Linked DNA regions of Homo sapiens: region 1 is linked to region 2. The links are contacts of gene promoters, found by promoter capture Hi-C in human tissues and cell types (Jung and others, 2019). All regions are on one chromosome and are shown on one strand. The core of a region is centred on a gene start or on the middle of the fragment in contact, and the rest is flanking DNA. Distances in the headings are between cores, read along the strand shown. Region 1 overlaps ANKDD1B (ankyrin repeat and death domain containing 1B). Region 2 holds the start of HMGCR (3-hydroxy-3-methylglutaryl-CoA reductase).

What was found. The method cuts DNA at HindIII sites, captures the fragments that hold promoters and counts their contacts. A contact is called where the count stands out against the background at its distance.
Region 1: a fragment that was not itself captured here is called in contact with the fragment with the promoter of HMGCR in region 2 in 1 of the 25 tissues and cell types used here (dorsolateral prefrontal cortex).

Annotation. Positions count from the first base shown.
Region 1 is chr5:75,659,589-75,662,785 of GRCh38, reverse strand. All of the region lies in intron 10 of ANKDD1B (ankyrin repeat and death domain containing 1B), which reads right to left. Among named protein-coding and RNA genes, the nearest start is that of ANKDD1B, 50 kb to the right of the region's middle. The HindIII fragment of the contact is 4,599 bases long and covers 1-3,197 here.
Region 2 is chr5:75,335,729-75,338,723 of GRCh38, reverse strand. It overlaps HMGCR (3-hydroxy-3-methylglutaryl-CoA reductase), which reads right to left and starts at 1,504. Exons shown (of 20, transcript NM_000859.3): 1 at 1,424-1,504. RefSeq lists enhancers at 474-1,032, 1,033-1,593 and a silencer at 1,273-1,392. The HindIII fragment of the contact is 13,606 bases long and covers 1-2,995 here.

The sequences.
Region 1 (3,197 bases), core at 255-2,754, 320 kb before region 2:
GAATGATCAACAAGGGCTGTTCTGGACATAATTTTGGGAATGAACTGCCTGGAGCCCACATGGTAACTTAGACGAATTACAAAAAGGTACACTTTTCTCAAGATGGACAGAGCTCAAAGCCAGGGCATAGAGCTTTGCAAGCAGAATCCTCTGGATTTCATAGAGTGCACCACTTCAACATCTAAATATTTTTCCCTGAGCAAAGGATGGTGGTTCTCATTTGCTTTTCAAATGACCCATGAAGAATTTGCTCAGAAAACAATTAAAATTAATGGTCAGAAATGACCCAAGAAGAAGAGTTCCAATCTTAGGAACCCTTATGGATCCAGAAATATATCCCAAGTATTATCTTACATGGTTAGATATTTGCAACAAGTGCGATTCCCACCAATATAAATGATTTGGTTCTTAGTCTAGGCACTAAGACCCAGGGGAGCAGGAAAATTAGGGCTGAAAGTAATCAGCCTGTAATCAAAAGAGACAGTAATGAAATTAGGAAGAACTGCATTTTGCAGGCATTTAGCAAGCCTCTAATTGTATGCTGTCTACATTCTGTCTTGCAGAGCCATTTGAATCACTATAATTAGCCTGCTTTGAGAAGGCAGCATTCTGAGAGCCAGAGTTTCCAAGTTCAAAGGAAAATCTTCCTAAGGAATATATGCTGGAGTGAAAATCCAAACACTTCTACCCTTAGGGGTTGGGAGGTAGCGTGGATAGAAGGTTCTCTGAGAGCTTTTTGACACCTCAGGCCAAGAGGACAAGCAGAGAACAAGCTGCTGGGAAAGTCAAATTTATACCAAACTTTGATTCCTTATTTCCTAACCAGACCCTAACATGGTCCTAGAAACACTTTTCTTTGGCAAAAAAAAAAAAAAAAAAAAAAAAATTGTGGGAGCCAATAGAAAAGATATTTTTTATTCATTTATTAACTATGTATTGGGTGCCAACTATGTGCCAGACCTTGAAAAGAAAGGAGAAGAAGGGAAATCTGGGAAAGTCAAATCATGAGGCCCAGTAAACTGTGAGCTCTTGTTTTGAAAACAAAGTCAAATGGTAGCATTGACTGTATTTACTGGAATATCTAGTCCACTAAGCAGCAGGGACCCCAACATAAATCCCTGCCCAATGCTATAGATTTCGTACCCACAGAATGGCTTTGGGGGTATTAAGTATTCATGAAAAAGTAGAATAAAATACAAAACAACAGCATTAAAAAATACTAAGGCTAAATGTTAAACCAAATTAACCAGGCACAACTGGTGAAAGTGGTGGAATTCCACACAAGTGATAACATTCTGTGTTGTGTTTTCCTCCTTAAGCTTTTCTGTGTTCTAAATCGTCCACAGTGGGCCTGTGTTACTTTTTTTTTTTTTTTTTTTTTTTTTTTTTCAGACGGAGTTTCGCTCTTTCACCCAGACTGGAGTGCACTGGCACGGTCTCGGCTCACTGCAACCTCCGCCTTCCGGTTTCAAGTGATTCTTCTGCCTCAGCCCCCGCTGTAGCTGGGATTACAGTTGCGCATCACCATGCCCGGCTGATTTGTGTATTTTTAGTAGAGACAGGGTTTCACCATGTTGGTCAGGCCGGTCTCAAACTCCTGACCTCATGATCTGCCTGCCTCAGCCTCCCAAAGTGCTGAGATTACAGGTGTGAGCCACCGCGCCCAGCCAGTCTGTGTTACTTTTTTTATGATCAGAAAAAAAAAAACAAAAAAACCTAATTTTAGAAACTGACACACAGAGAAAAGTAAAATAACATATAACTACTTTAGATCCTACACATGTAAAATGGATGATTCTGAACTAGAGTAGGGTGGACTCAGGCTTGCACTGTGACTTAGGGAAGTGCTGGCTATTGAACTGTTGGGTAAAAATAAGGAAGGGAAAACTGCAAGTTTCGGAAGCAGTCATCTTTGCTGACAGTTGTAGCAAAGCACCAGATGACAAAGCAGCCACTACTTGGATTTGAAGCCAGCTCTGCCTCTTACTATGCGTGTGACCCAATGTCATCAGAATCTCTCCAATCTGCTCTTGAAAACTGGAGTGATTTTGTCCACCTCACTGAAATGTGAGGATTGAAGTAATATGGCCTGCGTGAGCACCTGACAGGACTGTACCCAGGGACCTCCTATATAACATTCAGTAAAGCTGGAACCTAACACAGCTCTCTGACAACCCTCCGGAGGCTTAGCCTGCATTACTGCACCACTTGAAAGAAACAAAATTGTCCTTCTTTAAAAACAGGTTTACACAATAGCCAAAAGGTGGACGCAACCCAAATGTCCATCGATGGATGAATGAATGAACAAAATGTGGTATAGACATACAATGAAATGTTATTTAGCTTTGAAAAGAAATGAAATTCTGACACATGCTACAACATAGATAAACCTTGAAGACGTTACGCTAAGTGAACTAAGCCAGTCACAAAAAGGCAAATACTATGTGATTCCACTTATATGAGGTACTTAGAGTGGTCAAATTCATAGAAACAGAAAGTAGAATGGTGGTTCCCAGGGGCTGGGAGAAGGAAGAAATGGCAAGTTATTGAATAAGTGTAAAGTTTCACTTTTGCAAGATGAAAGTTTTGGAGACCAATTGCATAACAATGTGAATATGCTTAACCATACTGAACTATATACATAAAAATGGTTAAGACAGTGTTTATGTGTGTGTATTTTACCACAAATTTTTTAATTTAAAAAAACAAGTTTAGACATATGTAAAGTCATTCATTGCAGCTATGTTTATAAGAGCAAAACCTTAGGAACAACTTAAATGTCAATCAAGTGAGGACTAGCTGAACAAGTTGTGATATGTCTGTGCCACGCTATACTATGCAGCTCTAAAAAAAAAAAGAATGAAGAAACTCTCCATGTAGTAATATCTCCACTTAATAATGCTAAAAAAGCTAAATGCAGAACAGTATACTAGTTATAGGTATGCCATCAGTGTCTAAAAAGGAAGGAGGAAGGGAATAAGAGTAAAATGTGTTTATGTTTGCTTGCATATGCATAAAAAACTCTGGAAGGAACAGAAATAATTTATAATAATGGATATATATAAGCGGGGTAGTATGGTAACCAGACAAGTAGGAACAGGGGTGGGTGGGAAATTTTTACTGTTAAACCCTTACTAATTATATTCTTTTATTTCTGGACCATACGAATCTATAATCTTTTCAGAATTTGAATTTAA
Region 2 (2,995 bases), core at 255-2,754:
GTTGAATTTTAAATACTGGCAATTTCACATGGGTCAACCTAAGTAGACCATGTAATTCCATAATGTGGCTATCTATAGTCTAGAAACTAGACCATAAAGGAATACAAAGAGTGTGTGCATGCACGCATACTCACACTCTTATCTTGAAATGGTTATCCCACATACCCGACAATTTTCATGTTAATGCTGTAACCTATGTGCAATTTTGTTTAACCTTCATGTTACTAATTCCCATTTGTTTTGGCCACCAAGTTTATCATAAGTTCTGGAAGAACACTACAACAAAGCAGGCCTGCAAAATCCAGCCTATCCCCAAAGTACTGTCCAGGTCTTTGCTAGATTATCTCTAAATTGCAAAATGCCTTTCACTGCATGGAGAGGAAAATAAATTCATAAGTAAACAAAAAGTACATTCTCTACCTTGTGGGACGCCGAAATCATGCACATTTAGTATAGCCCAGAAACAAATGCTTCCTACGACTCTGCAGGACCATGTCTAAGAAGGAATATCCTCAAATCCTGAAATATTTCAAACGACTACTTAAGAATGGAGTACATCGACCTCCTCCTACTGCAGAAATTAACTGTTCTATATTTGTATCTCCAAGGTACATTTTTCCTAAAAGAATATCAGCACCAAGGAGACTACACCCCTTACCAAAAAAAAAAAAAAAAAAAGAGGGAGAAGAATCTTTTGAGTCATTGTGCGAATCCCCACGTTGGGCTCCGCATCCTCTCAAGCCGTTCTCCTGTAAATAACCAGACACATCTACACCAATCCACGGTTCTTTCATGGTTCTAAGTTAGTCAGCAGTATTTACAGAGATCTTTCCCGTCACCTAAAAGAAAGGTGCTAACGAACAGCAGTTCCTGGGCGTGAATGCCCGGATCCCGGGATGCAGGCGCTTCTCCCGTCTGCCCTGCGAGCTGCCGGCCCGACAGCCCCATAGACCCCTAGCATTTCTCGAATCCAGGGGCCTCCGAGGTCACCCTGCCTGACACCCTTTCCGCCCCGATTTTCGTGACCGTGCAGCCAGCACTGCCTACTCTGACTGAACAGGGACGATGAACGCAGCTACGCCCCGCGGGTCCACCGATGATGACCGCAGTCACGAAGAGGCCAGACCGCCGCCCGCCTCTCAAGCCCACCCCGGGACCCCGGGTTACTCCGGCACTGATGCCGGCCGCCGCTCGGCCTGCCGGGCCTCAAGGACATTCCTTGCAGTCCCCGCGGGTCCGAGCTGCCACACCGACAAAGCGCAACCGCAGCCCCCTCCAGGTCCGCAGGAGCTGCCGGTAGCCACTTCCCAGGGCCGAGGGAAGCTCCAGAATTGCCACCAACACAGCCCAAACCCCGCTCCCACCCATCTCCGCCCCGCTCCCCGCCGCCCCTGCCCCTCTTCTCGGTCACCGCCCGCCTCACCTCCAGATCTCACTAGAGGCCACCGAACCCCGGCGCCGACGCTCAGCCTGGCTCCAGTTAACGCAGTCGCGGAGCGGAAGGAGCCCTCACCTTACGCACGCTCGGAGCTGGACGAGCCTTCGACCAATAAGAGAGGATCGTTCGATTGTCTAGCCAATCGCCTGGGGGCTGCTCGGCCTGACGGCGCTACGTCACGAACGGTCGCCTTAACAACCGCCCACAGCTCTCTGCAGGGCCAAGAACAGGCACCGCACCATCTCTCACCACGGCTCGGCCAACCAATAGCCGTTCGAGTCCCAGCACTAGGGCCTGCCTATTGGTCCTAGAGCTGTGGGGGCGCACGCATGGCAGCTGCCTAGGCGGAGGCGATAGGGGACCAGGCGGGTGGAGTGTCCCACAGCCTCAGTGCCTGACCCGTGCTCGTCCTGGCTGTGATAGTACAGTAGGAGGCAGTGATAGGAAGCAGAATCGGAGCGTGAGGGAAAACGCAGGGTCAGGTCGATGACTGAAAGCTCAGTTACTAGCGCGGGAGAGATGGAGGGAAGCGGAGGCGGCCATGAGAAAAAGAGGAATATAAAAAAAGGGAAGGTGGCGGCGACGGGCACCTCAAACCTGTAACTGGCCGGTAGCCGAAACCAGCGCTTTCCCGAGATTTACCCATTAGTGTAAATGGCTCCGGTCACCTGCGTCTCTCTCTCTTGTGTGCGACATCCATTGCATACTGGATTCTCTCTGAAATGTGCCTCTCCTGCGTCTTCTGTGCGTTCCTTCTGCTCTCCGCCTGGTGCAGGGCTTTATTATGTCTTACTTAAAACAGTGCAATAGCCTCTCCTAACTGGTCTTCCCAGTCTTACACGCATGCACTTCCCAATCTGTCCTGCAGAACTCCCACATGCAGTATGTGGCATACTACTTCCTATTATGCCATAGACCCAAATCAGCGTTTCTCATTGTCTACTGGATTAAAGAAAGAACCTGTCACCACTAATATGGCCCCACCACACATTTCTGACGTATCTCTACTTTCCTGTGCGAACCTTACAGTTCAGCCAGGAGTAACTGGCCCTTCTTCAGTCACACTCAGTACCTTTTTACCTCCCTGCTTATGTTCTCTTTGTTTACCTTGGATATGCCTACCCATTTTAACTGCTGAGATCCTAAATATCCCTTAAGGACTTTTTCATATGCCACCTCCTTTCCTAATTCCCTCAAACACATCATCACTCCCGACCTTGAAAACCCATAAAATTTCCGTAGTATTTTTTTATTTGTCTTACTATCGTATGTGGAAATTTATTAAGGACAGGAATTGTATTTCACTCAATTTTTAAAGCCCATATTTTGAAACACATTACGAAGAAAACACTAAACACTCCTTAGTTTTAATAAATGATTATAGATTCTTATAATCCTTATATAATAGGTATTATTCCCATTTTACAAAAAAGTAAAAATTAAAGTTTGTCAAGCAACTTGCTGTAGATCACATAGATAATGAGCAAAACTGGAATTTGAACCCAGATCTAATGCTTAGGCTGGTTCTACTGTTCCCCACTGCTTCAGTGTAAGACC